3 separate regions of the Homo sapiens genome follow, and all the other regions are linked to region 3. Evidence: promoter capture Hi-C in 16 types of primary human blood cells and fetal thymus (Javierre and others, 2016). All regions are on one chromosome and are shown on one strand. The core of a region is centred on a gene start or on the middle of the fragment in contact, and the rest is flanking DNA. Distances in the headings are between cores, read along the strand shown. Region 1 overlaps RNASEH1 (ribonuclease H1). Region 2 overlaps SLC30A6 (solute carrier family 30 member 6). Region 3 holds the start of UGGT1 (UDP-glucose glycoprotein glucosyltransferase 1).

What was found. The method cuts DNA at HindIII sites, captures the fragments that hold promoters and counts their contacts. A CHiCAGO score of 5 or more calls a contact.
Region 1: a fragment that was not itself captured here is called in contact with the fragment with the promoter of UGGT1 in region 3 in 1 of 17 cell types (naive CD4 T cells); the score reaches 5.9 in naive CD4 T cells.
Region 2: a contact is called between a fragment that was not itself captured here and the fragment with the promoter of UGGT1 in region 3, in 1 of 17 cell types (non-activated CD4 T cells). The highest score is 6.4, in non-activated CD4 T cells.

Annotation. Positions count from the first base shown.
Region 1 is chr2:3,540,492-3,545,039 of GRCh38, reverse strand. It overlaps RNASEH1 (ribonuclease H1), which reads left to right. Exons shown (of 8, transcript NM_002936.6): 8 at 1-3,610. Among named protein-coding and RNA genes, the nearest start is that of RNASEH1, 16 kb to the left of the region's middle. The HindIII fragment of the contact is 6,001 bases long and covers 1-4,548 here.
Region 2 is chr2:32,166,623-32,171,418 of GRCh38, reverse strand. SLC30A6 (solute carrier family 30 member 6) reads right to left here. Exons shown (of 14, transcript NM_017964.5): 2 at 46-132. Among named protein-coding and RNA genes, the nearest start is that of SLC30A6, 3.2 kb to the right of the region's middle. RefSeq lists an enhancer at 3,719-4,235. The HindIII fragment of the contact is 4,514 bases long and covers 1-4,367 here.
Region 3 is chr2:128,089,620-128,094,069 of GRCh38, reverse strand. UGGT1 (UDP-glucose glycoprotein glucosyltransferase 1) reads right to left here and starts at 2,870. Exons shown (of 41, transcript NM_020120.4): 1 at 2,655-2,870. The coding sequence starts at 2,712. RefSeq lists an enhancer at 2,799-3,108. The HindIII fragment of the contact is 755 bases long and covers 2,348-3,102 here.

The DNA of each region.
Region 1 (4,548 bases), core at 643-3,142, about 120 Mb after region 3:
ACTTTGGGAGGCCAAGGCGGGCAGATCACTTGAGGTCAGGAGTTTGAGACCAGCTTGGCCAACATGACGAAACCCTGTCTCTACTAAAATTACAAAAATTATCCAGGTGTGGTGGCACGGGCTTGTAGTCCCAGCTACTTGGGAGGCTGAGGCACAAGAATCACTTGAACCCAGGCGGCAGAGGTTGCAGTGAGCCAAGATTGCACCACTGCACTCCATCCTGGGCAACAGAGTGAGACTCTGTCTCAAAAAAAAAAAAAAGTAGTAAAAGTTTGACATGATTATTTATTTAGTTTTAAACCTTTTTATTATAAAAACATACAGGAAGTGACACAAAACAAATGTATAGCTTATTGAATGATTATGATTGTAAGGTGAATAACCTTTGTGTCCACCACCTGGTGAAGAAATAGTACTTTGCCAGATACCCCAGGAGGCTCTCCCAAGTGCCCCTCCAGCCACAGCCCTCTTCTTCTCCCCCTCCTTGCCCCAACAAGTAATCCTGACTTTTACAGAAATGACTTTCTTGGTTTTTTGATGGCAGTTTAGTCTTGTCTGCTTTTTTTTGTTTATTTTTTTATCTACTTCAGTGTCCATTTGCAGTCCCGTCGGCCTCACTGTTTTCCCTGCCGTTTATCTGTTGAAGAGCCTGGGCTGTTTGTCCCATGGCTTCCCACAGTGTAGATTTTGCTGACCACGTGGTCATGGTGTAGTTCAGCATGGTCCTCTATGTTTCCTGCACATTGGCAGCTGGGTCCAGAGGCTTGATGAGCCTCAAATTTGATCCCTTTGGCAGGAGAACAGGCGGTTAGGAGCTTTCCTCAGGAAAGTACCATGTTGACGGCAGCTGATGCTCAGTGCCAAGATCCATTAATTATTTGGGGTTGCAAAATGGTGGTATTCTCATTCTGTCGTTTTGCTTGCCTTTATTAGCTGGAATGGTTTTCTAAGAAAGTGTTTTCTTTTTTATACTTATCTGGTTACCCAGTGGTACAGTTCATATAGGAAGGGCAGGATAAATGCTTGATTCTTTGCTCTTGTACACTAAGTTTTTAAGATAATGCATTAGTTGTCTGTCAAGGAAGGTGAGTGGTGAAGGGTTTTTACATATATACAAGAATTCATGGGCTGGGCATGGTGTCTTATGCCTGTAATCCCAGCACTTTGGGAGGCTGAGGCTGGAGGATCACATGAACCCAGGAGTTTGAGACTAGTCTGGGCAACATAGTGACACCCTGTCTCTACAGAAAATTAAAATAAAATCAGGTGGGTGTGGTAGTGCCTGCCTGTTGTCCCAGCTATTCTGGAGGCTGAGATGGGAGGATCGCTTGGGCCCAGGAGGTCGAGGATGCGTGAGCTGTGACCATGCCACCACATTCCAGCCTGGGCGACAGCAAGTCCTTGTCTTAAAAAAAAAAAAGAATTTGTGGAGTTAAGCATACTTGGTGGGTTTCAATCCGTTGTGATTTTTATCTTTATTTAGCTCAGACTAGCTTATTCGGTCAGTGAGAGGGAGCCTCTTCAGCTTGGCTCTTGCTTTCTTTTGATAAGTGTGCACATGTGTGCATACATGTGTGCACAGACCACACGCACAGTCATTGATAGCTCCCTGCAGCCTGGCATGTCAAGATGCTCTAGGCCCAATTTATAGAGCTTCTGCTCCAAACCTGTCTTAAAAGAAAAACTTTAGACAAGTTAGCAGTTTAATTGAGCAGAAAATAGTTTCTTCAGCTGGGTAGCACTCAGGACCAAAAGTGGTTCAGAACGTTCTCCTGTGCGTTGTGTGCAGGCTGTATTTATTTATAGCCACAGGAAGGGAAAGACACATGTACATGGCCAGACTGACTGCAGGTCAGCCTCCACCTCACATAGGCATGTTTTGGGAGCCTTCAGCATGTGATTGGTGAGACTCTGCTGCTTGTTACAGAAGTGTACTCTCAAGTCAGGTCCCAGTTTGCTTATACATTAAGTGAGGTTATAAGTCACTATGTACAGAGGCAGTTTTAGGCCAAACTTAATTCCGTTTAACACTTGGAATCCATTATTTTTCCCAGAGTCTCTGGTAGAGATGGTATTTCAGATCCAGTTTAGGATGCTCATTGCTATTGCGTTGGTCATTATTTCTAGATTTTTGGACGGAGCTTTAAAAAAATACAAACATTGCACACACATATTTAAAGGAAGAATATTTTCTGAGCCTATATTGATATTCCCAATACAAATTCAGGGTCCTGGGGCCTTTACATAGCCTCCTCTATATGATGTCTGTGTCTCCTGCACTCGGAATCCTGCTTCTCAAGACACAGGACAATGGCATGGAATATCCATCCCTTAATCACTCACTTGTTTTATTCCTCTTTAGCATTTAGCATTTAAAAAAAATACTAATACCATAGCATTAATTGTGATGATGAAAACAGCACTGTGTCTACGTTGTCAGAAAAATTGCTCCTTTTTACCACCATTGACTCATTTCTGTGTGTTCAGGTCTCATAACCAGTCTATAGTCAGTGTCATCTTGGGGACAGTATTCCTTGAGTTTCTGATGTTGAATTCAGTTTTGCTGGATACGAAATTCTTGGCCCAGATTTTCTTTGAGTATCTTGTTTTATTCTGTTTTCTTCCAGCATAAAGTGATGCATGAAAAGCCTGATGAATCTTGTTTTCTTCCCCTGACAGTCATATGCTGTTTTTCCTTAGATGCCCAAAGGATTTTTTCCTTTTTCTGTCAAGTCGGCCGTTTTATTCGAATGTGTCATGTGTTGGTATTGGTTGTCCTGGTCCATATTTGCAAGCGTATGGTGTGCTCTTTCTATGTGTACTTCATATCTGTTATTTTAAGAAGATTTGCTTGAACTGGAGTTTAGTGTTACATTTTTCTTGCTTTGGCTTTTTTCTGTGGGGATCCCTGTTATCTGTATGTTGAAATCTAAATTGGCTGTTCTCAGTGTTTGCCACTGTCTCTTGAATCTCTTTTATCTCTTTCTTTGTTTCTTTTTGAGTTTTAAAAGTTGTTATTGTACCACTTTTGTTTTGTTTTGTTATTTAAAATAGGAACAGTGTCTCACTGTGTTGCCCAGGCTGGTCTTAAACTCCTGGCCTCAAGCGATCCTCCTTCCTTGGCCTCCCAAAGTGCTGGGATTACAGGTGTGAGCCACCAAAGCCGGCCCCACCTTGCTTTTTAAAACAGCTCTGTTGAGGTGTAACTGACAGGTAATGAACTGCACATACGTGAAGTGACCGATGCATTTGCCTGTGAAGCTGTCGCCAGAACATGTCCATCACCACCAACAGCAGTTTCACACCCCGGTCTAAACCGTCCCTCGTGTCCTCCATGTTCAGGCAACCACTGGTCTGCTCCCTCTCACTAAAGGTTAATTTATATATTCTAGAATTTTATCTGAGTGGAATCGCAGAGCAAGTACTGTGGGGGGAGGTGCTTCTACTCAGCATAATTATTTTGGCATTCACCCATTTTGTGTACATCAATAATCCACATTTTGTATTGCATGGATATACCACAGTTTATTTATTTACCTGTTGACCGATATTTCGATTATTTCCAATTTCTAAATAAAAATAAAGCAAATAAAGCTGCCGTGAACATTTATATCCTCGTCTTTGTCTTCTGTTTCTCTTGGGTAAATGCCTTGGAATGGAATGCTTGGTCATATGGCAGGTGTGTGCTCTTTTTTTCTTTTTTTTTTTTTGGAGATGGAGCCTCACTCTGTCACCCAGGCTGGAGTGCAGTGGCGTGATCTTGGCTCACTGTAAGCTCTGCCTCCCGGGTTCACACCATTCTCCTGCCTCAGCCTCCCGAGTAGCTGGGACTACAGGTGCCCGCCACTACACCCGGCTAATTTTTTTGTATTTTTAGTAGAGGTGGGGTTTCACTGTGTTAGTCAGGATGGTCTCAATCTCCTGACCTCGTGATCCGCCTGCCTCGGCCTCCCAAAGTGCTGGGATTACAGTGTGAGCCCAGCCAGCTGGTGTGTGCTTTTTAAGAAACTGTGAAACTTTTCCAAGTGTGAACTTTACACTTTACATTCCCTCCAGTCAGGCAGGAGAGTTCCAGTTCACTCCACATCCTTGTCAACACTTGTCACCTCATTCTGTTACAAATGTCCATAAGTTTTTTGGTTTTGCTGTTTAGTAGTTCTGTTTTTAGGTGGGGATTTGAGAAGATTCAAAAAGCATGCTCCTGCTGCTGCCTCTGTCTTCTGAGAATCTGTGATTTAAAAAAAAAAAAATTGAACCAGAATTGGAAATAGATGAAAAGTTGTGCCTTTAGAAACTTTACGGTCTGTGGGATTTTCACAACACAGATGATGTTGGCTGGGCGCAGTGGCTCACGCCTGTAGTCCCAGCACTTTGGGAAGCTGAAGCAAGTGGATCACGAGGTCAGGCGTTCAAGACCAGGCTGACCAAGATGGTAAAACCCCATCTCTACTAAAAATACAAAAATTACCCAGGCGCGGTGGCAGGTGCCTGTAATCCCAGCTACTCGGGAGGCTGAGGCAGGAGAATTGCTTGAACCCAGGCGGCAGA
Region 2 (4,796 bases), core at 861-3,360, about 96 Mb after region 3:
TGTTGTTTGTGCAATAATTAAAATTGGGGTTAAGGAATAACTTACCCTTCGGTCAGCTGCTACAAGTCTAAATTCCCGTAACAACTTGCCAAAAAAGGATCTTTGTGGTTTTCGAAAGAGATGAATTGTCCCCTTTCAAACAAACATATACAAATCAGCATTTAGATATTTAATCATCTTCAGAGTTCCTATGATATGATATAGTGGTTCCTATGATATAAATAACCAATATTTATTAAGTACTCAATATACATCAAGCACTTATTCTAGACACTTTATGTGTATTTATGGATTTAATATTCACAATAAACCTATGTGGTGGAGACAACTTTTAGTAAGTCATCCAAAGTCACAGAGCTAGTAAATGGCTGAGCAGAAATTCAAACCCAGGCTTTTTAGCTCCAGACCACACTCTTTATTTTTAAATGGATAAGGCAACTTGAACTGAAAAAGAAATAGTTTGCCAAATAGCTCTACTGGAAATTTCTACTGAAAATTCACCTAATTAAAGCTATATATGTGGTTGTGCTTGGGGCTCATGCCTGTAATGCCAGCACTTTGGGAGGCCGAGGCAGAGGGATAACTTGAGGCCAGGAGTTTGAGACCAGCCTGGCCAACATGGCAAAACCCTGTCTCTACTAAAAATATAGAAATGAACTGGGTGTGGTGGTGCACACCTGTAATACCAGCTACTCAGGAGGCTGAGGCGTGAGAATCTCTTGAGCCTGGGAGGTGGAGTTTGCAGTGAGTCAAGATTGTGCCACTGCACTCTGGCCTCGGTGACAGAGTGAGACTCTGTCTCAAAAAGAAAGTAAGTTCAGGCAACTATTATAGTAAAACCCCTGAGATTCTCTCTTAGGCATTCAGTCAAAGTATCTGACATCCTGGCTAGTCTCCCTGGCCCCTGCTAGTGTATAGTTAGTTTGGGGATAGTAAAGATAGGGCTCACCAATGAGAGAGGAGACCAAGTGGCAACTAGAGGGGATTAACCACCCAAGTTTAGGAAATCACATGGGAAAGCCTTAGCAGAACAGAGAGTTCAAACACATATGAGAAATTAACTTATGAGAAAAGCAGTATCCAATATCACTGGGAGAAAATATAAGCCAGTCAATAAATGGTATTTTGATCAAGGTAATGTTTCACCCTTACCGTTACTCCTTACTCTGTTGTTATTTTTAAAAATAAAATACAGATTTATAGAGTACTTGACTGAAGAAAGTCTAGATGTATTATTTTATAATCTGGGAGTTGGGGGAAGCCTTTCTTAATAGGGCATAAAACCCAAGAAGCTCTAAAGGAAAAAAATTGATTGATTTTACTATATAATTTCATGGGCGAATGTAATACCCTTAAGGGGGAAAAAAACTTTAAGAAGGTCAAACTGAAAAAAAACTATAATTCACAACAGACAATAGGCCAATTTTCTCTATACACAATGAGCTTCCACAAACTATTTTTAAAAAGATGAATAACCCAGTTTTAAAAGTTACACATTTATAAAGCTGGCCAAATCAGTACCTGCTCATTATTCACATTTGCTTTTGCAACTTTGTATTGTTAATGTGAAATCATGATTTCTCTTGATACTTTAAAAATAAAAATGGTATGCCTCTCCCTATACACAGTCACATCCATCTCTTGAACCTCAGTTCCAGCTGCTTTTGAGGAGGACAGTCTGATTTTAAATATAGGCTACACGGCAAACAGGATATTCACTCTGTCGCAGCCCCATTCTGCGGTGAAGGAGTAGCTGGGACTACAGGTACCCACCACCACGCCCGGCTAATTTTTTTTTACCTTTAGTAGAGACGGGGTTTCACCGTGTTAGCCAGGATGGTCTTGATCTCCTGACCTCGTGATCCGCCCGCCTTGGCCTCCCAAAGTGCTGGGATTACAGGCGTGAGCCACCGCACCCAGCCAATAAATATATCTTTTTCTTGGCTGGCCATGGTGGCTCATGCCTGTAATTCCACCACTTTGGGTGACTGAGTCAGGAGGATCAGTTGAGCCCAGGAGTTCAAGACCAGCCTAGGAAATATACTGAGACCCTGTCTCTACAAAAAAATTGAAAAGAAAAAAATTAGCCAGGCATAGTGGTACATGCCTGTAGTCCCAGCTACTCAGGACACCAAGGTGGAAGGATCGCATGAGCCCGGGAAGTCAAGCAGTGAGCCAGGTTCACACTTTACTCAAGCCTGGGCAACAGAGCGAGACCCCATCTCGAAATAAATAAATAAATACATAAATAAATGTACATATGTATAAATATTATATATATGTGTATGTACATATGTATATATATTCTTTTCTTAAAGAATTATGTGTGAGTTATTTTGGTTCCAAAGATTTAAAAAATTCTCCTTAATACTGTTATTTTGGACATCTTCTGTTTAACCCTAGCCAACTTTAAGTTTCAGGTTAAGAGAATCAACAAGGTTTCTAAGAGGCAGAAAGCCACTTCTGATGCCATCCTGACAATGAAAATAAAACAAAAATCCTAATGTCATATCACTCTTCCCAAAATTATATTGGCTCGCCATTGCTATCAGAATAAACTACAAATTTTACAACCTGAATTTCCAGGTTTTCAATGACTTAGCCTGTTTCTTTCCAGTCTTATCTCTTACTCCAGATAGAAACCCTCAACTTCAGTTAAACTGGTCTACTCTTTTGTCTCATGACCACTCTTGCGTGAAAAGGCCAGATCTGTCTAACCCAAGCTCTTATTCATATAATGACAAACAAGTATTAGATTAAGAGTATTAGAGTGGGGCACAAAGTACTTAGTTTCATGTTTCACTTCTTAAATGAAGTCTTCCTAGATCATTCCAAACTATAGTGTTTTTTATGCCACTTATTTTGCATTAACCAAAGTAAAGCCTTCAACTTGTTACATTGCTTTGTAATTTTAGTAACTTCACTAATGACAAGGGCTATTTTCCTTTATATTTTGTTTTTATATACTTATATTTTTAATATTATATATTTATATTATTTATATTTTCTAAGAAGGCACTGTTTTCACACAGCATGTTAATAAACACAAAACCTTTTTCTCAATATTTTATTTTAAAATATTTATTTTAAAAAATAAACCTTAAATACTGTTTCCCTGCATGACTAATACTGATGTTTCAAGCATAAAGATATAGTGCCATAGGTTTTCAGTGCTTTATAAAACAGACGTTTTATTTGTATTTTTCTTTATATTTTCTAAGAAAGTACTGTTTTCACATAGCATGTTCTTAATAAACGCAAAACCTTTTCTCAATATCCTTTAAAATAAACCTTAAATACTGTTTCCCTGCATGACTAATACTAATGTTTCAAGCATAAAGATATAGTGCCATAAGTTTTCAGTGTCTTATAAAACAGATGTTTATTGAAAACTTCCTCTGGGCCAGGCACGCTACAAAGCTCTGGGAATTAGGGTGAAATACATAGGTCCTGCTCTCAATGAGCTTACAGTCTAGAAAGTGAGAAAGACAAATAAGTACACAACTTTAACATCGTCTGTAAGGATTACAGATGTTACTGGTAAAAAACACAAGAGATTCAAGTTTTACTTTCTTAAATTAGGGCTGTGAGTTAATGAAGGTGTATAATCTGAAAGACCTCTGAATTTTAAGTCTCTTATCCCTTTATCTTCAACTCCCTTCAAATCATCAGTATTATAGGCAAGTTAAGTTTCTATTGTATGTATTCGTTTTGTGCAGCTTTATGTAACAAAACTGGTGTGTGTGTGTGTGTGTTTGTGCATATAAAAGCACAAGGTACCACCAGAGCACAAAGGAGAAGCAACTAAGAGGATACTGGAACATGAGGGAAAGGTTCATGAAAAATAATTAAGGATATATAAGGGTTATTCTGATAAGGACAGCCGATAGAGAACAGAGAACAATTCTGGGGATGGAAGAGCATATGCAAATTAGGTACAAAGGCTCAATTAATACAGCATGATTTGCAAGCTATTCACTGTGGCTGAAATACGGATGTTGCATACATGTATGCATTAAAAAAAAAAAAAAAAAAAGAGTTTGTGGCCTGGCACGGTGGCTCACGCCTGTAATCCCAGCACTTTGGGAGGCAGAGGCGGGAGGATCACCTGAGGTCAGGAGTTCGCGATCAGCCTGACCAACATGGAGAAACCCCGTCTCTACTAAAAATACAAAATTAGCCAGGCGTGGTGGCGCATTCCTGTAATCCCAGCTGCTCGGGAAGGTGAGGCAGGAGAATCGCTTGAACCCGGGAGGCGGAAGTTGTGGTGAGCCGCGATCGCGCCATTGCACTCCAGCCTGGGCAACAAGAGTGGAACTCCGTCTCGAAAACAACAACAAAAAAAGAGGCTGTAAAAGTAAGAAGCTTGATAATGAGTGGCTTTGTATGCCATGCTAAACAGGACTTTATCTTGAGTGCTACAGAAAAAAAAAAAAGGAGAAAATTTGAGTAAGGGAGTGATGTGGTCAAATTTTAGAAATATAACTCTGGCTACAGGCTTCACAATGGTGAATGTTTTGAAGAAGAGCGTAACTGAAGGCTATTTGATCATTAGCCAAAAAGTGTAAACTTTTACCCATTTTCTGTGTGCAAAAGGATTACAGAAAATTTACAAAACATAAAGTGTGTGAATGAGGCATTTTCCCGACCATATCCACTTAAGTAAAAAACTTAGTACAGTGACAAAAGCTTAGGCACAGAAATGTGGTCTCTTTCTCATACGTAGGCTATCAATAAGTACTCCATAAATTTTTCTAATAAATGCATTTTCAAAAGGCACACGCCACTTGGACACT
Region 3 (4,450 bases), core at 1,621-4,120:
TGTAGAGTGGGGAGGAAATTGGGGGTATGACAAAGTCCCCTGAGGAAACCCCAGCATTTAACAAGCAATGACTCTGAGCTAAACATTGTATTAGGTGCTTTACATACACAGTGTTATCTAATCCTTACATACAACAACCCAGGGCACTAACGTTCTCTGAGGGGAGCAACCATGTCTACTTCGTTTACCAAAGTGCACAGCATGATGCCTGGCACTCAGAAGACAGTCCATGAATATGCTGCATGCATCTCCACTTTAAAAATAAGTGAAAGCTCGAAGATGCTGAGTACCTTGCCTAACTAATAAATAGCAGTGCTTAGAACCCACACCTTCCTGCTTTTAAAGTTCTACAATACCGTGCTCTCTTCTCTGGTTCTCTGGCTTTACAAAAGGGTAAAAAGCCATACTCTGTGCAGACTCAGACTGAGAAAAGTGCTTGTGAGAACCAAGGCAAGTCCAAGGATTTTCAGTGGCCACAGTTCTTGGGAGACAGGTGGCTGAGAAAGGAATAGTTTTAACCTGAAACCAAGGGAGGAGGCCTGAAGCTGGGACCGAAGCAATCCAACCAACCAATCTGACAGATCCACACTTACGCTGGCTTTGGGGACCGATGGGAGCTCCTCAAGAGCAGGGTGTTTTGTCTATCATGGTCTCCACGCCTAGCATTATGCCTGAAACATAGAAGGCTCTCAAAATGAAATAAACACAGGCCTCATTCATTAAGGCATGAATGGAAACAACAGGAAAGGAGTGTGGCACCAAGAGTGAAGATGCTATAAAATGCCTAGGACTGCAAGATAGGTAAAATGAAAATCCTATGAACCTGTGGCCTGCCTCGAGATCCCCCTACACTGTTTTCAAAAAGGAGAGAGAGTACGTGTTCTTGGGGAGAGATGCAGCACCATTTGAGATGAAAAAAGGAGGAAAGCTATACATTAAAAAAGAGCTTTGCCACTCTGACCCCACATTCTTAACTCTACAGGTAAAACCAGAGGAAAAGACTGTCCAGAGAAGCAGACGTAAGAATCTCACTGAAGTGGTCTCTGCTTTGAGTATGTCTTCATTTTATAGGATCCCTTATCATTCTGACCCTAGGGGTTCTTAAATGTTGCTTATAAAGACAAACAGTCTGAGATAATGGCCAACAGAATGTGCCATGTGGCTTTGCATGATAAGCATTATACTTGCGGCATGATGAATAAACAGAAAACACTCTTTAACAAGTTCTAGGCCCAACTATCAACAACCATCCGTAGGAGGCTGAGGTAGGAGGACCACCTGAGCCCAGGAGGTGGAGGCTGCAGCTAGCAAGATCATGTCACTATTCTCTAACCTGGGCAACAGAGCAAGACTCTGCCTCACCAACAAAAAATAAAAAAATAAATTAAAACACTATCTCTTGCACCATTGCACTCCAGCCTGGGTAACAAGAGTGAAACTCCATCTCAAAAAAAAAAAAAAAAAGAAAGAAAGAAAGAAAATTATCACATCATCTTGTATTGTTACAGGGAAACTTAGATAAAAAAAGAAAATGCTCACAGACAGCTGCAGGAAAGTTCTAAGCAAATTTTCTTCTTACTTTCATATATTCCCCTGAAGTTCAATGTGCATTATAAATGTGCTATGCTACTGTACAAAGTATTATGGTCACTTCCTTTAATAAGTTTCATGTGGCCAGGAGTTCAAGATCAGACTGGTAGGTAACAAGACCTCATCTCTACAAAATAAATAAATAAATAAATAAATAAGAATTTTTTTAAAATAAGCTTCAGCTAAGTTTATCAAAAGCAAGTCAAGTGTTGCTAAATTCGACTGGCTTAAAAAAAAAAAAAGCAAAGTGAAAAGGCTACAATTATTCCAAGTTTTGTGGTGCTGTTAAATAGCTATTTAAAATGTCTTCAAACGCCTGCAAGTGTAAGATTCTTGAAGGAAAGAGGGCACTTTACACTAAAATTGGCTGGCAAGTACATCAATGAATGTTTCCAAAACAGTTAGTGTAGCACAATAAGGCAAAAGACCCCAGGACTTCAAACGAACAAAATTGCTCCTTCTCAAATCTGGCAAGAAATGCAAAACAACTGCAGATTCTGGCCAAGGAACAAAAACAGTTCACATCTATAAGTTATTGGCGACGGACGCAGATCTCATTCTGGCAGGTCCCACGCTAAAAGTGAAACCATATCATCCAATTTCCAGCCAACAGATCACAGTGTTAAAAGAAAACAGTAACCAATACGCATCAACCCGAATTCATTTTAGGAAAAATTGAAATCTATTTTAAAAAGCACGTCGTTCTGCAATCAGGGTCCTGCAAAGTGCTGCTTCTCAACTCACTGAGGATCAAGCTTGGTCTAAATCCATGGTAGGATACCTCCCCCATTTCCTTCTGCACTTGGCACAAGGATCTAAAGCTCTTCAAAGAAGGTTCAAGACCGCTGAACAGAGCCCGCCGCCACCCCCGCGGAAGCGATACCTTGCCAAGAAGACCACTGAGGGCAACTCGGGGCGCTCGCGAATAGGGGAAGGGATAGGACACCAGAGGGTAAACTGAGTCACGGTAGAGGCGGAAGCTCAATGTGACAGGGGCACAGGGTCGCCTTGTGCCCCAAACCCTCTCTTTGTCCACGAGGCCTCCTCACGCCACCCCTGGGTACCTGTCACCGGCAGCGCACCCGCGGCACACGCACCGCTCGCGTCTCCCTTGCAGCCCATGCCCGGGCCGTGGTCAGTCCGCCACAGTGCCAGAGACAACGCCAGGGCAGGGCGGGGCGAGGCGGCAGCGGCAGTGCAGGCTGCGCCAGTGAGAGGCCGACACGCGCCTTTCCCGCGGCTCGACTCAACACCCAGCCTCGCAAAGCAATTGCCCAGCTGCCGGCCGCCCTTTTACTTCCGCTTCCTGCAGGCGAACGCTGGAGGACTTCCGGATACCGAGTCGAGACCTAGCAGCCCAGAGCGTCGCGCGGTCGCCCTCTCATCTCCGAGGGTTGGGGAGGGGGGAGTCCTGCCTCTCTCCTCACTTCCGCCTTTCAGGGTGGCGGGTAGGCTGCCGGTCTTCAAGGTCTTGGGAAGGTTCGTTGGGCCAACAGCTGAGACCCGAAAGCTTCAACAGTCAGTCGGTGAAATCCAGTTTGGACTCTGGGACTTACTCCCTTAAACCTTTGTTAAAAGCTTACTCCCTTTAGCCTTTCGGTGGCACAGTAAGGACAATTGTCTTAATGTTTCTGAGCATCTTAGACTTTATACTAAACCCTAAAATTTTGATAGCTACCTTCCAGGAGGCATGATGAAAGGAAGACTTTTTAAATTTTATGAGCCGCTTGAGCTTTCTTATTCGGACAGCGGCAGCTTAGTCTACAGGGACTACTTTGTCCTTTTAGTATTTTTTTTTTAACTAATATAAACCAGTTTAAAATTGTTTTGGAATAGGTAGCATTTAACCCACCCAAAAATGAATACCTCTTTGGAGGGTATATTTTTAAGTATATTAAGTCAAAGTGAATGAAAAGCCAAAAATATTTTTTTGGAGTTGGAGTCTCGCTCTGTCTCCCAGGCTGGAATGCAGTGGCGCGATCTCGGCTCACTGCAACCTCCGCGCCCCCGCCCGCGCCCCCCACCCCCCAACCCCCCGACCCGCATTCAAGCGATTCTCCCACCTCAGCCTCCCCAGTAGCTGGGATTACAGGCGTGCGCCACCGCGCCTGGCTAATTTTTGTATTTTTAGTAGAGACAGGGTTTCACCCTGTTGGCCAGGCTGGTCTCGAACTGCTGACCTCAGATGATCCACCCGCCTCGGCCTCCCAAGTGCTGGGATTACAGGCGTGACCCACTGCGCCCGGCCCAAAATAATTTTAATAAATAAACATGAGCCAACATGATGAAGGGGAGGAAGGAGAGGAGGATGAAGGAGATGACTAATGGAACACTGATGGAGGCCGGGCGCGGTGGCTCACGCTGAGGATGGAGGCTGAGGCAGGAGAATGGCGTGAACCCGGGAGGCGGAGGTTGCTTGCAGTGAGCAGAGATCGCATCACTGCACTCCAGCCTGGGCGAGAGAGGGAGACTCCATCTCAAAAAAAAAAAAAACAGCAACAACAACAGCAAAAAAACACTGATGGATTCCAACCTTCCTTTTTTTACATTTTCTCCAGTCCCTGGGAGCAAGTTGCAGTTTTTTTGTTTTTTTGTTTTTTGTTTTTTCTCTCTTGTGCTCAGTCGCCCTGTTCTTGAGGTTTCTTTTCTCTACACTATAGTTCTCAACTTATTTTGGGGGAAATAACTTCAGCAGAATACAATGGGAAAAGAGTCTCTACCCCTTTCTGTTCGAAATTCATTTTTATCCCTTCCTGTCTGAGCAAAAACTGTATAGAATCAACATCACCCCAGCTCTGTGGGAAAAAAGAAAAACCTGCTCCCTTCGCCCTGCTGGAAGCTGGAGGGCTCTAGGCCCATG